Linked DNA regions of Homo sapiens: all the other regions are linked to region 3. Evidence: promoter capture Hi-C in human tissues and cell types (Jung and others, 2019). All regions are on one chromosome and are shown on one strand. Each heading gives the region's core, a stretch centred on a gene start or on the middle of the fragment in contact. The rest is flanking DNA. Distances are from core to core; before and after follow the strand shown.

What was found. Contacts are between HindIII fragments. The study calls those that stand out against the background at their distance.
Region 1: a contact is called between a fragment that was not itself captured here and the fragment with the promoter of GALNT18 in region 3, in 6 of the 25 tissues and cell types used here (H1 embryonic stem cells, IMR-90 fibroblasts, bladder and 3 more).
Region 2: a fragment that was not itself captured here is called in contact with the fragment with the promoter of GALNT18 in region 3 in 3 of the 25 tissues and cell types used here (aorta, liver and pancreas).

Annotation. Positions count from the first base shown.
Region 1 is chr11:11,508,697-11,512,253 of GRCh38, forward strand. All of the region lies in intron 1 of GALNT18 (polypeptide N-acetylgalactosaminyltransferase 18), which reads right to left. Among named protein-coding and RNA genes, the nearest start is that of GALNT18-AS1, 59 kb to the right of the region's middle. RefSeq lists an enhancer at 639-1,140. The HindIII fragment of the contact is 4,338 bases long and covers 1-3,557 here.
Region 2 is chr11:11,524,756-11,527,923 of GRCh38, forward strand. All of the region lies in intron 1 of GALNT18 (polypeptide N-acetylgalactosaminyltransferase 18), which reads right to left. Among named protein-coding and RNA genes, the nearest start is that of GALNT18-AS1, 44 kb to the right of the region's middle. The HindIII fragment of the contact is 9,133 bases long and covers 1-3,168 here.
Region 3 is chr11:11,620,739-11,623,828 of GRCh38, forward strand. GALNT18 (polypeptide N-acetylgalactosaminyltransferase 18) reads right to left here and starts at 1,267. Exons shown (of 11, transcript NM_198516.3): 1 at 621-1,267. The coding sequence starts at 855. RefSeq lists enhancers at 1-117, 1-9, 750-799, 1,010-1,089, 1,207-1,707 and silencers at 290-359, 380-459, 1,210-1,569. The HindIII fragment of the contact is 13,654 bases long and covers 1-3,090 here.

The sequences.
Region 1 (3,557 bases), core at 594-3,093, 110 kb before region 3:
CACTGGTTAATGATAATGAAGCCTTTGGCACTTTTTTCCTATAGATGCACTTACAGGATAGAACTCCATTTCTAAAATGCATTCCACCAAAGCACAGTGAAAGCAATTACCAATACTCAATTACTCCAGCTTCACTCCATCACTGTAGATACTCTTAAATGCTATGCAAGGGTGGTTTTGAATATCCTGAATGTGGAAATTGGTTTACAATAACAAAGAGAGGCTCAGAAATCTTTGATGGCTCCCAAGAACTACCCGATACAACCCAAACTCCTTATCTGGCACTCAGGCTCAACCAGATCTGGCCCCAGCTCCCACCCCTCTCCCATGACTTCCCTACCTCTCGGACCAAACTGAACTTTTCTCTTCTTCTTCTACACCCCCATGCTTTTCCCTTGCCCATTCTGAATCCTCTGTCTTGAATGCCCTGATTCTCATCTTTCACAAGTGTTTGCTAAAGAAAAGAAAAAAAAAAGCTTCCTCCTTTTCTGACTTCTCTTAATCTGTGACAATTAGGGCCCTTGGTATCTAAATGGCACACTGAGCTTGTTTTCAGAACATCAGTGAAGTTCTAATACCAAAATATTTTTGAAACAATTTGATATCCAAAGAAAGATTTTTTAAACATTTAAGTAGTTATCATGGGAACAATTAGAACTGCTGGAATTGTTTTTATATATTCATAATTTAATATATTTTTATTTTGCATTACATTCAGGAAAGAGGGGAAGGGAGCACTGTGATTCTTAGGACCCAATACATCTTAATCTAGCCTTGGGTGAAAACTCTAAGAACAGAATTGGTGTTATTTCTCCCCTAGCCCCAGGCCTAGCATCATGTGCTATGCATGGTAACTGCTCAATAAGTAGTTACTGAACAATGGAGAGAAAGCTTGGAGTCACATCAATTGTTTGTGCTCCTTTGAAGACGGAATGACTTTCCCCCCTCTCCATGCCTCCAGTCATTTCTCCCTCAGCACATCTCATCAGAAATAAATAGAGGCCTCAGCCCTTTGTGCCTAGCCACTGGCAGAGAGCAGAGGACTGGCCACAGGCCTTTGGCCACATGCTGGCATATCTGAATTCAAGACCTTCACTGCCCTGTGATTAACACATGCGCTACTCCATCCTCTGTGGGAAACTGAAAGATCCTGTTCATGGTGACAATTGGAGAGCAATCTCCCTTCTTTGGCTATATCTGGGGTCACTCCCAGCACCACGCAGAAAGAGTATTTGTATAAGACACAGCATCGGTGGTCACATCCTCTGAGAAGCCTTCTGAGGGCAGGACCTTCCAGCAGAGCACCCAAGGTCCCTGGTTACAGCATCAGAACACTCCAGACACTTCACTATGGCCCAGTGAGTACCAACTACATGCAGATGCTGGCCACAGCATGGAAAACTCAACACAAGGGAAGACTCAGCTGCAGCCCAAAAGGAGCATTACCACCAAGTCACAGAGACCACGCTGATGGATCTGAAGCACCCAAGATTCACACAAGGCAATGTGACATGAAGGGTGTGGAAAGCCTCACAATAGGAAAACCACCTTTAATGGGAGCCCATATTTTGCCTGGCACTAAAGTACACAAACTATTTTAACATCTGCTGTCTCAGTATACTCTCCCAGGGGCCCTGTGAGAAGGGCAGGTCAGAAGCATTAAATATGAAACCAGGTAAAGCTCCCTACCCTGGGTCGTCTCTGTGATAAGGCCTCACCATGTTCCAACCTCTATTCAGGTCACTTCTGCAAACCTTCCATGAGTACAGCTCATTTCCAGGCCTTGTACCAGGCACTGGGCATGCAGAAAGTCCCTTAGAACACAAACTATATGCAAGGCACTCATGCCTTTAGAGATGCATTCCCTGCATTGGTGGTATAGTGGTGAGCATAGCTGCCTTCCAGAGATGCATTTCCTGGGTCTAACCTGGGGCTCAGTGCAAGAAATAGAAATGAAGGTGCCTGCCTTTAAGGAGTTATCCAGCTACTGTGCCACTTTTCACACCACCTTGTGTGACCTGTTGGCCCATCTATCTTTTCTTCTAGGCTGTGATCTTCTCTAGAAAATGGGATCTCTGTGACTCCAGGGCAAATCTCAGGGCTGGGCACATTGCAACATCATTTCAAAGCCAGGCTTCTGTGATAGTGGACAGTCCCAGAGCTCAGCCCTATATATGCATTCGCTGAGCTCCATCCTCAGGCTTTCAGGCTGCAGGCCTTCCTGACCCAGACTTCTGTGTACCACCTCTACATGCCTCTCTGTAGCTCTAACATGAGGATGGTGCCCGGACAGACACAACCGGCACTCTTTCCTCTCGGCGGGGCGTGCAGCTGGTACCGCCTTCCACTTGACTCCTGACAAAGACATGCAGCCTGCCAGGTGATGCAAGAGAGGGCCAGGCTGCAGCTGAAGGCCTTCTCTCCCGGGGGTTGTAAAAACAGGCTGCCCCTCCTTTTGGACTGAATGAGGTTTCTCGCTGTGAATAATGGCATTGAAGTATTCAAGGGCTGCATTCAGGAGCTGAATCATGGAATCCCAGCCAAAGAATCTGCTGAAGACTGAAGGGACCGGCTGTCCAGCTTCACGCAGGGAGGGCTCCTTGAAGCTAATTACTGCCACCAGGCCCTGGTCTCAGACCTTACACACTGGTCTGCAAAGAGCTACAGCTCAAGGTTGCTGTGTCCCCGCAGCCAAGGCTGAAGCATGACCTAGCCAGTCCCCTACAGCTAACAGAGCGACCCCATACATGTGATCCCCAGAATAGGCCCCAGACAATCCTGAGGAGACCTGGCTAATGCAGTGGTTCTTTACTTCTGAGCCACTCACCCCTCAGAAAATCTGAGAAAAGGCTTGGACTATCTCTCCAGAAAATGCATACATGTGCACACTGTGTTATGGAATGAAAGCTTCTGTTTCCACTAAAATTGATAGGTTGGAACCTAATCCCCAGTGTGATGATGTTTGAAGGTAGGGCCTTTGGGAGGTGATTGGATCATAAGGGTGGAGCCCTCATCAATGGTATATTGGTGCCCTTCTAAGAAGAGGCCAGAGAGCTCTCCCAGTCTCTTTTTGCCATGTGAGGATACAATGAGAAGTTGGCAGTAAACAACCCAGAAGAGGGCCCTCACCAGACCCGGACCACACTGGTACCCTGATCTGGGACTTTCAGCCCCCAGAACTATGAAAAATCAATTTCTGTTGTTTGTAAGCCATCCACTCTATGGTGCTTTGTTACAGCAGCTCAAACTGATCAACACATATACATATGTATATGTATGCATACCATCATATGTATACACATGTCTACATATATACACACATACATATGTTTACATGTATACATATACATACACAGAGTTACTCCCATAATTTTTACACATTCACAGATTCCCTAAAGCCCATCCAGAAGTCTAAGTTAAGAATTCTTTATTAAAGTCACCAAAGACGAAAGCCAATTTTTCCATCTGAAACCGCCTGCCCCCATGGGTTCAGGGCTGAGCCGTGTCTCCTGGGCAGGAGTAAAGGGTGAATTTAGCCCTAGGTCCAAGTGGCATGT
Region 2 (3,168 bases), core at 582-3,081, 95 kb before region 3:
ACTGATACACATTTATGGAGAACCAGTCCATACCATTGTCTAGTGAACAAACGAAATGTATAAGTAAATAGGACTCAGTCTCTGCCTTCACGACATTTGTCTGTGTCATTCTTGAATCATAGCTGGCAGAGAGTGGAAGTGTTTTAAGGGAAGCATAAACACAAGCTCTGAGAAGCAATAGGAAAGGAGAGAGAGATTCTGTCTGGGGTTTCCAGGAGGCTCCCAGAGGATGCAAAACTCAGACTGGATCTTGAAGACTAAGTCCAGGGTTATCAGAGAAGGTTGAAGAGAAAGGAGGGGATTTCATGCAGAAAAACCAATATACAAATTCAGAGAGGTGCAAGAAAAAAAATACATATATATGCATGAATACATTCTGGTGTTGCCGGAATATAGACAGGGTGGGGAGGAGGAGAGGTAGGAAAAACAACGAAATGGAGGAGATTTCGAAAGGCCCAGAATGCCATCCTAGCAATTTAAACATCACTCTCAAGGAAACGCGAATGACTGAAAGTTTCCACTGGATCCTTACCTTCTAGGGTAATAGAAATATTACCCTAGAAGTGGTAGAATGGAGGTGAATGAGAAGCAGGGAGCTCAATGAATAAGAAAGACTGTTAGATGAAAACCAGTGCCAGATGATAAGGTCCTTATCTGAAACAGCGATAGTAAAAGCAAAAAAGTTCACGAAACATTTCAGTGGCGAAATCGGTAAGACTTGATTGGATGAGGTTGAGACAGGGAAGAATGAGTAATACACAGAATACAGGGCTACTGATTTTATCTAAATGGAGAATGGAGTCAGTTGTGGATATGGAGGAGGTAGGAAGGGGAACAGGTTTGAAGAAAGCTGATGATCTGGTGTTGTGCATATTACTTTTTTTTTTTTTTTTTTTGAGATGGAGTTTCGCTTTTGTTGCCCAGGCTGAAGTTCAATGACACTATCTCAGCTCACCACAACCTCCACCTGCTGGGTTCAAGCAATTCTCCTGCCTCAGCCTCCCGAGTAGCTGGGATTACAGGCGCCCGCCACCACGCCCAGCTAATTTTGTAATTTTAGTAGAGACAGGGTTTCTCCATGTTGGTCAGGCTGGTCTCGAACTCCCAACCTCAGGTGATCCGCCCGCCTCAGTCTCCTAAAGTGCTGGGATTACACTCATGAGCCACCGTGCCCGGCCACGCATATCACATTTGAGGTGTCACTGCAACATGCTAATGGGGGTGACCAGTTGGCAATTGGAAGACACGGAAGAAACTTCCATCTGCCTGGAGTGGGGGAAAGGTATGAGAAAGGCTCCAGAGGCAGTGTAGACATTTGCTGTAAGTATGCTAGGCGTTCTCAGGGACAGGATGTTGGAAGAAAAGAGAGCAATGGCATTTTAGGCAGGCAGTCAGGGATGTATAAAGCCATAAAGGCAGGATGTCATCAGGGAAGACCAGGAAGTTAGATGTGGGTGGAGGGAGGGAAGCCAGTATCGGCTTTTCCATGTAACAATTTCCCGCAAGCCATGGGCCCGGCCATGGATCAAACATTTCTGTGAGTGACAGACTGTTTGTGTGATGGTAGAATAGCACGACTTTGTGAATAAATTCATAGACTCTTACAAGTAGACTCCTGGAGTCTTTGATGTTCCTTTAAAAATGCAGCGCTGGTCCCTTTCTGGCATGTATAGTTACTTCTTTCATTGTCTTTCTGCTATAAAAACCAGAACATATGTAGTTATTCATGGAAGTAATAAATACATCATTCTTTCTTTTAAAAATATATTTCTTTTAAAAATATAGTGTATTTGTCAGGGGAGAGCTGGTTATATTGCAGTAACAAAAACACCCCAAATACCGGTAGCTTATATCACAAAGGCTACATCTCAGGCTACACGTCCATCAGGATCACCTAGGATCTCTGCTCCTGTGTCATCATTGTCACCCTTACATTGGGAAAAGAGCTGCTAGAATACCTGTACCATTGACCATTGAGCATATATTGGCTCTTAAATTTTCCACCTGAAAGTGACATGTCACTTCTGCTCACATTTATTTAGCCAAAATAAGTCACATGGCCAAGTGTGAAATCCAGGGAAAGTGGGGAATATTACTCTCCCGCAGGAGCACAGCAGCTGTCAGTGAACAGCAATCCAGTCGAGTCCACGCCACACTCTAAGATGGACAGGTTCCTCAATGTCTGTGGGAGTCTTGCACCTAGACTATGACAATTATCATCTGATGTGGGTACCCTCTCTTGAAGGAGCCCGACACAGGGAAGATGCTTTCTCATTTATAAATGCATTTCTCCAGGCCTTGACACCAGATTGCCAATGACCTTGGCATTCCTGGCCAGGAATGTTTCCTGTCTAGGTCTGTACTCCCTGCATAGTGATCCTTCCAAAAGTCTTCATTGTCTTGAAGGCACCCCCCAACCCCTGTCCCCTGCCAACTCTGCACTAAGGATGGAGACGAGCAGCATCTGCTTCTGCTTCTACAGTAGCTTTTCTCTGCATGAAGAAAATCTGGCACAGAACCTATGTTTCACTATCTAAGACACTTTTTTGATCAAATGTCCCCATGGTCTGCTGTTGGATTGGGGTGTTTCTTTTTACCCCTGCAGATACTTGTTTGCCTTTCGAGTCTCTGGGCTGATGCAGTCAGCTCATTCCGGTACAAAACAGGGACAATAATTATTATTCTTACGTGGTTCTGCAATTCACAGATTTTTCCTAAGTAAATGTCCACATGAGCTTTATTCTACAGAACTGTAAACAGATGCCACAAAGCAGTGTCTCTGCCACCAAGGTTCACCAATTAGAGGTACCAAGCCATGAGCAATGGCCCATGAAATATTTAAAATTCTTCAAGATTAAATATATATTATACATTTTTAAAACCCTAAGTCTAAATGTATTTATAAAGCCAGATTTTATTTTCCATGTTCTGCTTTCTAGAACAGAGCTCTCTGGGCATAACAAATTCCTCCCCTCAGTCTTGAAGAGCCCATCAAAGCCAGGCATCTGCAATGAGCTGTTTTCTATTCATTGCCTGATGGACATCAATTATTCTCTATTTTCTTAAACTGTGAATAGTAAGAGACTGTTAAACTCAGGCACCCTAGCAGGAGACAAACAGCAGAGGCCCTGCCACTGCCCAAACCACCAATACCTCTAGATGCCAGGC
Region 3 (3,090 bases), core at 17-2,516:
GGGGTAGGGACTGCTATAGGTTCAAGCGGCTTTTCAACCACAGAGGGCTCCTTGCATTCCCTATCGCCTACCAACGGGATCACAGCAAGACTGGGGCTGGGGCTGATACAACGCAATTTTCCTAGCCTCGCTTGTCCGGCAGCCTGCGGGTCTTAACTGCCAATAGTCAGGGCCGCCGCGCGGGCATCTCGCCTGACGCCTACAGTGGCCAAAAAAGCTCGTTTGCCCGCGCGTTCCCTCTTGTACACACACAGACATTCACATGCACACACACTCTGAGCCGGACTTGTGTGCGATCCCGAGAGCCCGCGAGCAACCAGCCCAGAGTCACACGCACATTTGGACACGTGCGCAGCGCGCCCCCATACCGCCAGCTAGCTGCACACATCCGCTCGTGCAGCCCTGCGCACACACGTGTGCCCCGGGGAAGAGCGCACGGCCGCAGACAGAAGGTCCCGAACGCAGGCAGGAGCTCACACGCAGGCCCCACGACTACCACGCATCTGCGGCCCCAGAGCCCCGCCGTGGCTGAGTTGATGCGCACCAGCCCCAGCGCACCCCGCGCCGCGCGGGGCACTCCCGGGCCTCATGGGCGACCCAAGTTTCCGGGGCGCCCGTACCTTGAATGTGCTGCTTGATGACATTCTCCAGGTGGTCCAGCCGCTCAATAATCTTCAGAGTGTCCCCTTTGTCTTCCTCCAGCTTCTTGTCGGGCGCCGGCTCCTGCCCCCGCACATACACGCTGGCGATGTAGTTGGTGACCCAGCCCACGTAGAGCAGGCAGATGATGTTAGTCATGCCGCTCAGGATCACGCAAGTGGACACCAAAGTTTTGGTCTTCCTGGTGCACACCATTCTGGGCTCCTTCCTCCATATAGAGCTCCCGGGGGCCCTTCCTTGTCGTGCGCCCCGAACTCCCCCGCGCTCGCACCCCGTAGCACGTCCGGAGCCGCTGGGCACCTCAGCACCTGAGTCCCGAGGTTCTCCAAAGCCCGGTCCGCTGCCGGTGTAGCCGCCGTGCCCAAGTTTGCAGCTCCTGCCGCTGGCCACCCGGAGAGACCTTGACAAAGGAAACCAGGTGGATTTTTTTCCAAATTAAAAATCCCTGAACCCTTCCTAGAGGGGTCACGGGTAGCCGGCAGCCGCGCGTCCAGATGTGTACGTCTGGGAAACTTTGCCACTGCCTGTGTCGGCGGCCACGCCGCTTCCCATCGCCAGCGCCGGCTGCCTTGGCGGTCCGACCGGCCCGCGCTGCTAGGAGAACAGCGGCAGCGGCAGCGGCGGCGGGGAGAGCCGCGAAGCAGAGCGGCCCGGCCCCCTCCGAGCGACAAGCGCTGCCACCAATCGCGCTCCGGCTCGGGAGAGGGGCCGGTGCTGAGCGGCAGCGGACCAACGGGGAGGGAGCGGGGGGCGGAGTCCAGCTCCCAGGCCCCACCTGCTGGCCGCCCCTGGCTCCCGCCCCCAGGGACGCGCCCGGGCCTCCACCCGCGCCTGCACAGGCTGCCCCAGACCTGAAGCTCCCGGAGAGGGCGCGCTGCCAGTCCCAGCCCTTAGGTCGGCAGCTTCCTCCGTTAGGGGAATTCCATCTCTTGCTCTTGGGCAGGAATCTCCTGGTTTTGTGGAGGGGGTGGGGGGTTCGCACGGGTCAGCTTCTTTCATCCGCCCGGGGCTTCTCGCATTGGTGCCACCAGTCGACTCCTGGAATCTTTTCTTGGTTGCCAGGACGCTGAGAAGCCAAGGAAGTGCCAGCCCCAGCGGCATCCACTCCTTCCTTGGCCTCACTTGGGCCTCCACCCTGCCCTCTGCCCTTCAGCCACCGGCCTCCTGAGTGTGTCCAGACCTGGCCCTAAACCTGGCTGAAAGGAGCCAACCCTCCGGCAACCTCCCAGAAGCAACATTGGTGACCTATTAGATGACTCTCTCGACCACTTCTTCCCCCCCCCCACCCCCCACCCCCCACCCCCACCGCCTGCCCCAATTTTTGCCCCTATCTAGGTTTTTCTTTAAGTCTGTACAGCTCCCAGGACATGGATGTGTCCTTTAAGCCCAGTTTTCATTTATGTGGAACCAGGGTCATCCAGTGCATAAAGAAACCCTGCAAGGAAGTGCCGCTGAGGGGAACTGAGGTCTGTGAACTGTAAAGCCCTTCTACATGTTGTTTATGATTGCTATCATAGAGGGCGGTGGGAGAGACCTGTGACTGAGCACAGGAGGAGGCCAGACGCAGACAGTGATACTGCTGTGTTTGTTCTTACTGCCAATGTTTACTCATATTATCCTCTTCTGCTGAACACCCCGTTCTCAGCACCTGAACGGAATTCCTTTAAACAAAGACTTTTTACAACATAGATTTCCTGCCTCTTCTCCATCTCTGAGTTGCTTTATTTTTTTGGCCTAAGCCAGGGAGGCAGCCTGCTGCATGCCCACTTTGTTGTGTGCCAGCCTTCCAACCAGCCACAGAAATACTCAGGGCAGCTCCATCCTGGGATATCTTCTGGATTCAAATGACTGGCCCCACAAGAGAGGGAGAGCACAAAACCAAAGAAAGGGCACTTTATGGCCCCATCAGCCAAGGGCCCTTCTACCAATGCTTTGTTTACAAAACCTCCCCAAAGATGCTATGAAAACAGATACCAACTAGGGACCCGGGAAGATTTCCCTTGATCCATAGCTGGAAGAGAGAACAGTGGGTGTGGGTTGGCGTGGGCTGGGGTATAGAAGGGGGAGAAGAATCGTGTGTATGGTATGTAGGAGATACATACATGAGAGGAGAGAATGTACACAATTTCTGAAAAAATCAAGGTAGAGAAATCTGCCTCCAGGAGGGAGTAAAACTTGTCTCTCCCTTTTTTCTCTTCCAGAGGTATAATCCAGCTCACAAATAAAGGATCTGAACTTTCTTCTGGTTGGACAGACTTACAAGCAATGCCCTTGAGTACAGGCTAAGGTGTAATCTTTCCTTCTGTTCTGCCCCCTCTCCCAGGAGGAGCCCTGGAAGTTCAGCCCTTCTTGGGATCTTCCTAAACCACCACAGGACTAGAAAGAGAAGGCAATACTCATTCTTTTCACATTCTTAATGGAAAAAAATTA